4 separate regions of the Homo sapiens genome follow, and regions 1, 2 and 4 are each linked to region 3. The links are contacts of gene promoters, found by promoter capture Hi-C in blood cells and fetal thymus (Javierre and others, 2016). All regions are on one chromosome and are shown on one strand. The core of a region is centred on a gene start or on the middle of the fragment in contact, and the rest is flanking DNA. Distances in the headings are between cores, read along the strand shown. Region 1 has its middle 12 kb from the start of C1QL1. Region 2 overlaps LOC107987243 (a long non-coding RNA gene). Region 3 holds the start of GFAP (glial fibrillary acidic protein). Region 4 overlaps DCAKD (dephospho-CoA kinase domain containing).

Evidence for each region. Contacts are between HindIII fragments. The CHiCAGO score rates a contact against its expected background, and 5 or more counts as called.
Region 1: a fragment that was not itself captured here is called in contact with the fragment with the promoter of GFAP in region 3 in 3 of 17 cell types (endothelial precursors, megakaryocytes and erythroblasts); the score reaches 7.4 in endothelial precursors.
Region 2: a contact is called between a fragment that was not itself captured here and the fragment with the promoter of GFAP in region 3, in 5 of 17 cell types (endothelial precursors, megakaryocytes, erythroblasts and 2 more). The highest score is 9.9, in endothelial precursors.
Region 4: a fragment that was not itself captured here is called in contact with the fragment with the promoter of GFAP in region 3 in 3 of 17 cell types (endothelial precursors, erythroblasts and M1 macrophages); the score reaches 6.0 in endothelial precursors.

Annotation. Positions count from the first base shown.
Region 1 is chr17:44,979,066-44,981,765 of GRCh38, forward strand. It overlaps the pseudogene LOC112268183. Among named protein-coding and RNA genes, the nearest start is that of C1QL1, 12 kb to the left of the region's middle. The HindIII fragment of the contact is 3,216 bases long and covers 1-2,700 here.
Region 2 is chr17:45,005,357-45,008,056 of GRCh38, forward strand. All of the region lies in intron 2 of LOC107987243 (a long non-coding RNA gene), which reads right to left. Among named protein-coding and RNA genes, the nearest start is that of C1QL1, 38 kb to the left of the region's middle. RefSeq lists an enhancer at 292-1,248. The HindIII fragment of the contact is 5,941 bases long and covers 1-2,700 here.
Region 3 is chr17:44,914,250-44,916,949 of GRCh38, forward strand. It overlaps GFAP (glial fibrillary acidic protein), which reads right to left and starts at 1,251. Exons shown (of 9, transcript NM_002055.5): 1 at 777-1,251. The coding sequence starts at 1,237. The HindIII fragment of the contact is 16,653 bases long and covers 1-2,700 here.
Region 4 is chr17:45,036,286-45,038,985 of GRCh38, forward strand. All of the region lies in intron 1 of DCAKD (dephospho-CoA kinase domain containing), which reads right to left. Among named protein-coding and RNA genes, the nearest start is that of DCAKD, 14 kb to the right of the region's middle. RefSeq lists an enhancer at 1-260. The HindIII fragment of the contact is 322 bases long and covers 1,149-1,470 here.

The sequences.
Region 1 (2,700 bases), core at 86-2,585, 65 kb after region 3:
AAGTGACAGGGCTGGCTGGGGGTAGGGGTGAGGCCAGAAAAAATGCTTTAGTTCCTATCGGGGGCTACAGAAGGGGCTCTTGTGATGGGGGTCACTGAGCTGCAGGTCTTCCAGCTTCCAATCTAGAAAGAGCCTGATGGATTGATCGTGGGTCCAGGGAAAGATTTTGAGTTCAAAGACGTAATACCCTCCAGGGACTCCAGGAGAATTTTCTGTGTCATGTAAAAAGTAAGAAGAGGCTGAGTGTGGTGGCTCGGCCCTGTAATCCCAGTCCTTTGGGAGGCAGAGGCAGGAGGATTGCTTGAAGCCAGGAGTTGAGATCACAGGCTGGGCAACATGGCAAGACCTTGTCTCTACAGAAAAAAAAAAAAAACAAAAACACAAGAAGATCCCTCTCTTTGCCCCTAATTGAGAGACATGACTAGAAGGCAGGAGGTTGGCTGTCGAGTGGGGAGTGCTTATCAGGTAGGGGTGGGGCAGGTTTCCCATGTTATCTTGGAAGGTATTTCTGGCTCTACAGTTCCTGATGAAGACATACTCGAGCACTTTAGGCCAACCATTGGTAAAACTAGGAGCAGAACTCAGGAGTCCTGGATGCCTGCCTCTCCAGTCTCCAGTGCAGTCCCACCTCTCCTCCCCGCTGCTCCTCGATTGCTAGCTCCCTCCCTGCCAGTTTCCAGGCTGGGAGCCCCAGCTGGCGGAGGATGTCTTGCTCCTCAGCAGCTGGGATTTGTAAATATTTATAGGAACATGGAACAGATCAGTGGCTGACAGGCCCAGGGAGCGGGCAGGGCCCTGCCCGGAGCTCAGCAGCTTCACTCCCCCTTCCCACACCCTGGCCTGATTTGAGGGAGCCCAGGATGACAAAGAGGGGGTGATCAAGGAGGGTATGGGGCCGGCAGCCTCTATATCCAGGAACACGAGCTTGAAGGATGCGTTTGTCCATCTGCCCTGGGCTCCGCTTTCACACCCAGTCACTCACATCCTTCCACCCTCACCACAGCTCACCTGCGTGCTCATGTGGCCAAGGCCACACTGACCCCCACCCTCACTCTTTCAACACTTCACTGTCACACTCACACATGTACACACATGCTTTCCAACTCCCACGTCCACGTTGATACTCACTCTCATAGGCTCACACTTTTGCACACTCACCACCTCATGCTCACAGACCCACTGGGGGCCCAGATCCCAGCCACTCCCCATAGGTCTTAACACAGGTCCTGGGAGGGCAAGTCCTGTTTCCTATCTGAGGTGGGGTATGAGTGCGTGTGTGTGTGTGTGTGTGTGTGTGTGTGTGTGTGTGTATGTGTGTGTATGCATGCTTGTAGGGAGCAGGAGGGAACAGGTCCTGAAGTCAGGAAGTGAGGAAGAGGGAGGAGAGAGGGAGAGAGGCATGGACCAAGGGCCATTCAGAGCTGATAGAAGCCTGGTGTGGAAGCAAGGCAGAGACAAAGGCAAGGCAAAGAAATAGAGACTGACAAGGGTCAAGCCAGAGGGGGAAGGGGGTGGGGACCGAGGCCCCCCCACCCAGATGAGAAGCTGTCACATTGCTGCTCCGGTGGCCATGAGACCAGCACCACCCCCAGCTGGAGCCTTTCCCCTCTGGATCTTGTCACTGTGGCTTTGCTGCTTGGGCAGCCGGGAGTGGTGACAAGCAGGGAAGACAGTCCCCAGGGCAGCTGGCCATGCCACTCCAGCCTGGCTGCCAGCTCACCCATCACTGCCCATCTCATCACCCACAGGGGCCCAGATGAAACCAGGAATCGGCCTGGCTGCCCTTGCCTCCCAGTGTCACAGTAGAGAGCAGGGGAGCCACTGGCCCCCTCCCCAAAACGTGGGCAGTGTTAACCACACCTTGCCCAGGTCCCTGGACCTTGAAGCTGGACTTGGGGAGAATGGGCCAACTCTCTGCTCCCAGGCACCCAGGACCTGCTAGACAGGGAAGGAACTGGTGAATGAGACAGGGTGCTTGAGGAGGGGGTTGGGGAATGAAGCCACTATGAGGAACCCAGTGTGTTTTGGGCATAAACTTTTTATTTCGTCGCTTTACCATGCACAAGAATGATGACCCCACATGCCCCTGGTGCTGTGTTAAATAATCGTCCTTCTCGCCTCGGGTCTGTCTCACGGTATTAGTTCTGGGGCATCAATCAGCCAGTTTGTGCTCTGCAATCTGAGAACAATCATTTCTATAAAATCAGTAAGGCAAAAAAGGAATCATAATACAAAGGAGGGAAAGTTGCACTGACTGCTGTTTTCCTGTTTTTTTAATCAGCAGTGCAGCTTTCCGTCCAGGTTTTGATGTCCTGATTGATTCATGCTTTCACGGGTTCATTCATGTATTTACTCAACAACCATTGCTCATCCGAGTGCCAGGTCCTGAGCTGCGTCCTGGGAGCCAGTGAGAAAGCCAGACAAGGTTCTTGCTTACATAGTGTTTAGAGTTGATCAAAACCAAACAAACGCACAACAAAATGTGATTCCCCCAAGGGGCCAGAGAGCAGTGTCAGAGTGCCCAGCCTGGGGACCCAGACATTGGGCTCTTCCAGTGGAACACTTGGAAATCACCCAGAATTCTTCTCTCGTCCCAGGATCAACATCTTCCCATCCCTCTCCTGCCTTGGCAGTTTCGCTTTTCCTAACAATCAGGCCATCTGGTAATGGGGGGATGTACGAATGTGAAACTGAATCTCA
Region 2 (2,700 bases), core at 98-2,597, 91 kb after region 3:
TTTTAAATGTTTTAACTTTTTTAGAGACTAGGTCTCCTAACACTGCCCAGGCTGGTCTCAAACTCCTGGGAACAAGTGATCCATCAGCCTCAGCCTCCCAAAGTGCTGAGATTACAGGCATGAGCCACCTAAGCGATTTTTTTTAAAAAGTGTTGAGTGAGGCAGGAGGATCACTTACGCCCAGGAGTTTGAAGTTACAGTGAGCAATGACTGGGCTACTGCACTCCAGCCTGGGTGACAGAGCAAGACCCTATCTCTAAAAAAATAAAAAATATTTAAAAAGCATTGGCTGGGCACTGTGGCTTATACTTGTAATCCCAGCATTTTGGAAGGCTAAGGTGGGAGGATCACTTGAGCTCAGGAGGTCAAGACTAGCCTAGGCAACATAGTAAGACCCCATTTCTACAAAAAATTTAAAATATTAGCCAGGCATGGTGGTGTGCACCTGTAGTTTCAGCTTCTCAGGAGGCTGAGGCAGGAGAATTGCTTGAACCCAGGAGGTAGAGGCTGCAGTGAACTATGATGGAGCCAATGCACCCGAGCCTGGGTAACAGAGCAAGACCTCATTTCTAAACAAAATAAACAATTTTTAAAGAAGTGTTGACATGGTGTTTGTTAAGGTGTGGAGAAAAGGAGTTACAGAGAGCCCTGAGAAAGCCAGACCTCAAGACCATGAAGATGCGTCCTTCCTCCTGGCCCCTCAACCTTTCAGCACACCCCTCCCCTCTCCTCCTGCCCCAATCCCAGGCCCACTCTCGCTCCTGGCACCTGGCTGAGCTCTGGCTCGGGGTGGGGAGGGACATCCTTAGCTGCGAGGCAGATGGGCTCTACAAGGCTCAGCGCCTACAAGCCCCTGCAGAATTGGCCACCAAAGAGTTGGTGCTGGACTTCTCTAGCCTCATGGAGAGCCAGAGCACAGGGAGAACCAGTGCAAATGGCTTCCTTCGTTCCTGGGAGGGGTCTTGGGGGTCACCTAGGACCCTCTCTTTGACAGATGGGAAAACCAAAGCTCAGAAAGGTTAGCATATGTTCAAACACCAGTCATCTGTCTAGCAGGGAGAAAGGGTGATCCCAGGAGCAGATAAATCCAAATCCCTTTCAAAGGCCCTCCTGGATCCTGGAAAATCAAATGTTCTTTCCAACTCTGCTTCCTTGGGCTAGTGTTTGAGCAAAAGTCTATTCCAGGTGGGCTGGGACTGGGGGCAGAGGAGGGAAGGAAATTGGCAGGAAAGTAGTTTTCTAAGTGGCTGATGGCTGCTTTGGGCAGGAGACAGGCTGCTAGGAACCTGTTCCCTCCAACCCCCTCCAACCCCCTCCAACCCCCTCCAACCCCTCCAACCCCCTCCAACCCCCTCCAACCCCCTCCAACCCCTCCAACCCCCTCCAACCCCCTCCAACCCCCCCAACCCCCTCCAACCCCCTCCAAACCCCCCCAACCCCCTCCAACCCCCTCCAACCCCCTCCAACCCCCTCCAACCCCCTCCACAACCCACTTGCCTGGGAAGCCTTTCTCCCCACACCCATTTTCTCTTTCCGGCTGAGGCTTACCCTCCATCTACGATGAACGTGGGGGGCCTGGGGAGAGGTAGGGGGCTGGGAAGCAGTCCTGTCTGCCTTTCGAACCTCATGGGCAGGTGGGGCTCCCCTGCCTGACATTCCTATGCTGCTCCCGCCCCCGCGTGGCTCCTCTGATGCCCAAATCGCCTTTTCCCAGATCCAATTAAAACAGCGTTTGGAGCAAGGTTGAAATAATCACATAATAATTTTCTCCAGTAAAGTTACTGGCTGGAGCCCGATTTGAAAGCTGAGCTGGTAATTGAATCTGAGGGGCAGCGACAGAAGAGGAGCTGGGGGGAGTGGTGGAGACTCCTTGTGGGGCCCAGAGGCTCCCGGCTGTGATTACCCCTCCCACCATTGGTAATAGGTGTTGCAACCCCCTCCTACTGTCCATCTCCATTTCACTCCCTCCCTCTAGTAACAGATGTCTCTTGGGGCTACAGAACTCCCAGACTTCAACAGGAGAACAGGCCCAGAGCCCATGCCATCAGACTTTCTCGGTTCACAGGCCAGACTGGGGAGGCCACATGCCCACAGTCACCCAGAGAGGTCAAGCAAAGCCAGGACTCCAACCCAGGTCTCGGACTCTCCAGCCACTGTTTTTTTTGTTTTTTTTTTTGACAGAATTTTGCTCTGTCGCCCAGGCTGGAGTGCAGTGGCACGATCTCAGCTCACTGCAACCTCTGCTTCCCGGGTTCAAGTGATTCTCCTGCCTCAGCCTCCCAAGTAGTTGGAATTACAGGCGCATGCCACCACACCCAGCTAATTTTTGTATTTTTAGTAGAGACGGGTTTCCACCATGTTGACCAGGCTTGTCTCAAACTCCTGATCTCAGGTGATCCACCTGCCTCAGCCTCCCAAAGTGCTGGGATCACAGATGTGAGCCACTGTGCCTGACCCAGCCACTGCTTTAATCTCCACTTCAGGTTTCCTGACTCCCAGGCCCTCCCCACTCTCTCCTGCTCTGCCCATCTTCCTCCACCATCTCCCAGGATTTCCTGGTCCCACCCTAACCTCTCTGCAGCAGGGAGGGGAAGTGACTACCTGCATGATCTCTGGGCCAGCGGGCTGTGCAGCAGGGGCTCCCTGCACATCAACAGCTGACATGACCAGACTGGGCAGCCCTGCTTGGTCCTCCACCAT
Region 3 (2,700 bases), core at 1-2,500:
CTGGAGGATGAGCAGATGTGGGCTTTTGCCTTAACTCATTACTAAGGTGCCTTATCAGGGTTGGTGCACCTGCTTCTGCTCACACAGGCGCATCCACAAGCATACACTCACTGTTGCACACACACACACACACACGCACATGTCCTCCTGCACTTGAAGGCACACATGCATGTCCTGTCAGCTCAGTGAAGCGCCATGCCCCTGGGGATTCCTCTGATCCCAGGTAACCACCTTTTGAAATGAATTTTATTATGACCACCGCTTCACAGCTGTGCAAGTCAAAGTAACTTGATGGGGGTCACAAGCTGGTGGCAGGCAGTCACCTGTGCTTTGCGCCCAGACCTGCCTGCTCTTTCCCTCACTTTCTTCACCCCAGAATCCAATCTCCCTCATGGACATCAACCTTCTCCGCTTCCAACTCCTCCTTTATATGGACACAGGCTCAGAATAGGTGAGCTCGCTGCCCACAGTCACAAAGCCCAGCCATGAATGAAACACAGGGGCCCCGCTGCTCCTGCACTGCTTTCCCCAGTAGGGAGGTGCTGAGGGGACCCTGGACTCCTGGCAGAAGGCATGCGGGCATCAGATCCCCGGGGCCCTGGGCCTGTTTCTGGTCCCTCCCATCATGTTGGGGGGCAAGGATAGTGCCCCATCAAGAGGTAGGGAGGCCCAGGGAGCAGGGAGGTTCGGCCCCTCCCTGAGACTTCTCGGGCACTCCTTCTTGGGGATTCAGCCCCTTCTGCTCACAAGGCCCCCCTTCCCCATCCCCTCCTCACTTCTGCCTCACAGTGGCCAGGTCCTGTGCCAGATTGTCCCTCTCAACCTCCAGCCGGGCGCTGTTGGCGGTGAGTTGATCGAGCCGCAGCCGCAGCTCTCGCAGCTCAGCCTGGTAGACGTCTGCCAGCTTGGTGGGCTCCTTGGCCCGCAGCTGGTTCAGCTCAGCAGCCAGCGCCTTGTTTTGCTGTTCCAGGAAGCGAACCTTCTCGATGTAGCTGGCAAAGCGGTCATTGAGCTCCATCATCTCTGCCCGCTCACTGGCCCGGGTCTCCTTGAAGCCAGCATTGAGTGCCCCAGCCAGGGAGAAATCCACCCGGGTCGGGAGTGGAGGGGGCATTCGAGCCAGGGAGAGGCGGGTGCCAGGACCCAGACGGCGGCCAGGAGCCAGGCCCCCCACCATCATCTCCCCTGAGGAGACGTAGGAGCGGCGAGCAGCGGAGGTGATGCGTCTCCTCTCCATCCTGCTCTGGCTCTGCTCGCTCCTGGGATGCGAGGGCTTTATGAAGGAGTGGGCTAGACTGGCGATGCCCGGGTGCCCCTGGCAACACCCCCTGGCATAGCCTGAGGGGGTGGGGTTGGGCCGCAGCCCAGCTATGGGGAGAGCTCCCCTCACCCCACTGAGGTCACTGTGCCCAGAGGCAGAGCTTCCTGGGCACGCCAACTCCTGCATGAGGCAGGTGGTACCTGGAGCCAGACCATGGGTCTGGGGCCCTGACCGCTGAAGCAAGAGGACCCTCTCTCTAGGAAGGTGGGTCAAGAAAGGGTTGGTTGGACCATGATGAATACTTACAATTATTATGCATCAATTAAAAAGGAAGGAAAGGGCTGAGTGGGGTGGCTCATGCTTGTAATCCCAGCACTTTGGGAGGCTGAGGCTGGAGGATTGCTTGAGCCCAGTAGGTTGAGGCTGCAGTGAGCTGTGTTTGCGCCACTCCAGCCTGGGCAACAGAGAGAGACCTTGTCTCACAAAAAAAAAAAAAAAAAAGGGAAGGAAGGGCTGTACCAGATGACCTCTGACCTGCTTTCCAACTTTTTGATTTCATAACCCAGGCATTATCTCACTCAGCTGTAAGTGCCTGCAAGGTGCTGGGAATTTGGCGAAGAATGAACCTGTTCTGTACCCTCAAGGGCCACCTCATTTCCTACTAGGCCTCATTCCCAGCAGACTCCTGGAGTCCTTCCCTTGAACACAGATGTCCCACATTCCTGCTCTCTGCCCATTCATTCCCTGGAGTTCTGGGGCTGGGGGCTGGGATTGGACACCAGCCCTTTGTCTAAGGGTCAATCATGGCCTCTATGTGGCAGTGGAGGTCCTGATAGGGCAAGAGGGGGCCGGCACTCTCTTGCCTTATCAGGACTTTAGCCCCTGGATCTGTCCCTCCAGGTCACCCCTTCCTTGTCTGGCCTCCCTGTGCCTCTCTCCCAGAGACCAGGCCTTGACAGCTCCACAAAGCCGTTACACATGAGCTGGCTGTGCTGGCTCGTCTTTATTCCTGCAGCGCCCCGTTTCCCTGGCCACCCCTCCGTCTCCCACTGGAGATTTATTTCCTCGAGTTCCCACACATCAGCCTGGAGAGATGGGAAGAACCTCTGGGGATGGATGGGTTTGGAAACGCTGGAGCCACTGGGCCCAACTAGGAGCCTGAGACCTGGGCCCTGTTGTCCCTGGAGACTTCAGGTCCATCTACGCCCTCCACTCTGGTCCCACAGGGTCAGAACCCTGCCCAGTCCCCTCACCCATTTGTGTCCTTGGACTTCTGGGAAGCAGACAGCCCTCCTCTCCCCCCCTGCCACCCACTGTCCATGCCTGGGCATCCCCTGATCCCCTTTCCTGGGCACAGGCTGAATAGAGCCTTGTTCTCCACCGCCGGTGGCGCCACACAGCAAGGGCAGCCCCTAGGGGGCTGTGCTGCTTTTATCCCA
Region 4 (2,700 bases), core at 60-2,559, 120 kb after region 3:
GCAGGCAGATCATGAGGTGAGGAGATCGAGACCATCCTGGCTAACATGGTAAAACCCCGTCTCTACTAAAAATACAAAAAATTAGCCAGGCCTGGTGGCGGGCGCCTGCAGTCCCAGCTACTCGGGAGGCTGAGGCAGGAGAATCGCTTGAACCCAGGAGGCGGAGGTTGCAGTGAGCGGAGATTGCGCCCCTGCACCCCAGCCTGGGTGACAGAGCGAGACTCCGTCTCAGAGAAAAAAAAAAAGAAAAAGAAAATGCATCTGCAGTCCATGGTATGTTGCTTGATAAATGGTAAATATCCCAAAAATGGAAGTGAGGATAGTGATACAGGGTGAAAAGTAGGAGTTACAGTTCCACTGCAAGGCATAGAAAGGAAAAAAAAAAAGACTTTCATGAAATCATGTCCCTATTCCTCCAACCTCAGACTATCACACCATAAACTTTTAAGGAGTCATGGTGCATTTTCTGGAGTAAATGAGGTTACCATGTCTTGGACTTTGTTCCCAGGCTGGAAGCAATTAAATCAAAGGCCAGGTCTCTCCCACCCTTCCTTCAGCCTCAAATCACTTCTCCAGGACTGTAAAATCTGCCATAGGACTTTTTTTGTTGCCGTTAAGCAGCAGATTTACTGTCCTAATTACACTTTGCTTGAGCTTACACTGAAATGAGTTTGCCTCCCGTGAGGACACACCAAATGACAGGGGAGGCAGCTGCTTGGATGTGGCTGAGTTGGTGCCTGGCTTGGGGCAGCAGGGGACCAACCTAGAAATTGAAATCTGCCACTGCTCATTCTCACCCCGGAAAGCCAGAGGTGGAGAGAGGAAACTATCCACCACGGAGTCATCATCCAAATGGAGAGACCTAGCTACATTAATCAACTATTTAACAATCATTTCTAGGCCACGCACGGTGTTCACGCCTGTAATCCCAGTGCTTTGGGAGGTTGAGGCAGGAGGATTGCTTGAGACCAGGAGTTCGAGGCCAGCCTGGGCAATACAGCAAGGCTCTCTCTCTATTAAAAAAAATAATAATTTCTCCTCCATCTCTCTGAGGCTGGTGATCTCCCTCTAGGTCACAAAAAGGACAGGGTTCAGTTGTAAAAACAAACAAACAAAACAAACAAACAAAATGTCAGCCACTCAGCTGAAGCTTTGAAATAGAAAATCTAGAAAGAATTTTTTTTTTTTTAGATGGAATTTCACTCTTGTCGTTGCCCAGGCTGGAGTGCAATGGCGCATCTCAGCTCACTGCAACCTCCGCCTCTCAGGTTCAAGCGATTCTCCTGCCTCAGACTCCCAAGTAGTTGGGATTACATGCAGCCGTCACCATGCCCAGCTAATTTTTGTATTTTTAGTAGACATGGGGTTTTGCCAGGTTGGCCATGGCTGGTCTCGAACTCCTGACCTCAGGTGATCCACCCACCTCAGCCTCCCAAAGTACTGGGATTACAGGCGTAAACCACCACGCCAAGCTTCAAGAGCTTTTTTTTTTTTTTTTTGAGACAGAGTCTCACTCTGTTGCCCAGGCTGGAGTGCAGTGGTGTGATCTCGGCTCACTGCAAGCTCTGCCTCCCGGGTTCACGCCATTCTCCTGCCTCAAACTCCCGAATAGCTGGGATTACAGGTGCCCACCACCATGCCTGGCTAATTTTTTTGTATTTTTAGTAGAGATGGGGTTTCACCATGTTGGTCAGGCTGGTCTCAAACTCCTGACTTCAGGTGATCCACCCACCTCGGCCTCCCAAAGTGCTGGGATTACAGGCGTGAGCCACCATGCCTGGCCTTTTTTTCTTTTCTTTTCTTTTCTTGAGACAAGAGTCTCTCTCTGTCCCCCAGGGTGGCGTGCAGCGGTGCAATCTGGGCCCACTGCAATCTCTGCCTCCTGGGTTCAAGAGATTGTCCTGCCTCAGCCTCCCGAGTAGCTAGGATTACAGGTATGCACCACCATGCCTGGCTGATTTTTTTGTATTTTTAGTAGAGACGAGGTTTCACCATGTTGGCCAGGCTGGCTCAAACTCCTGACCTCAGGTGATCTGCCCACCCAGGCAGTTCTGATGTGTAACAGCGCTCAGGATAAATTCTAACTCTTCTTTTACAGCAGTGGAGACTGAGGACCAGAGAAGGGAGGGGACTTCCCACCAGCAGCTATTATCAAAGGCTGGATGCAGTTCAGGGCTCCTAACCCCTAGTCTAGACCCCTGCCTTTAATGTACTCAAGGAATGAAAAATTAATTTACCTTTAGACTAATGAGACAAAGTAAGGAAGATGAATCTGTTTGTAGGCAAATCGATTCAGAGCCAAAGAGAAATAATTTCTTGATTATCATACTGTTTTCTTCCTGCAGAATGGGGGCTGAGGGGGTGTGTGGACAATGGCCAGAGCACAGATGGAAATTCCAGCCTCCCGGGTTACCTAATGAGTATCCTCCCTTCTCAGTGCCTTGACCGAGTGTCTGTGGAAACAGACCAACAGCTGCTTGGCCTCCATCAGGAAGGCCAAGCGGACAAAGGAGCACACGCCCAGGGAGGCTCCGGGTCCCCAACTTAAAAGGGCCTTGACAAATAACAGCTGTTCCTGTCCAACAAGCCCCTCTGTAGCTCATTCCTTCACTGACCATCCACTGAGCATCTCTGTGCTCTGCAGGAACGGTGCCAGGGACCTCTTGGGTAACCAGAGGAAAACACAAGTCTTGCCCCTTG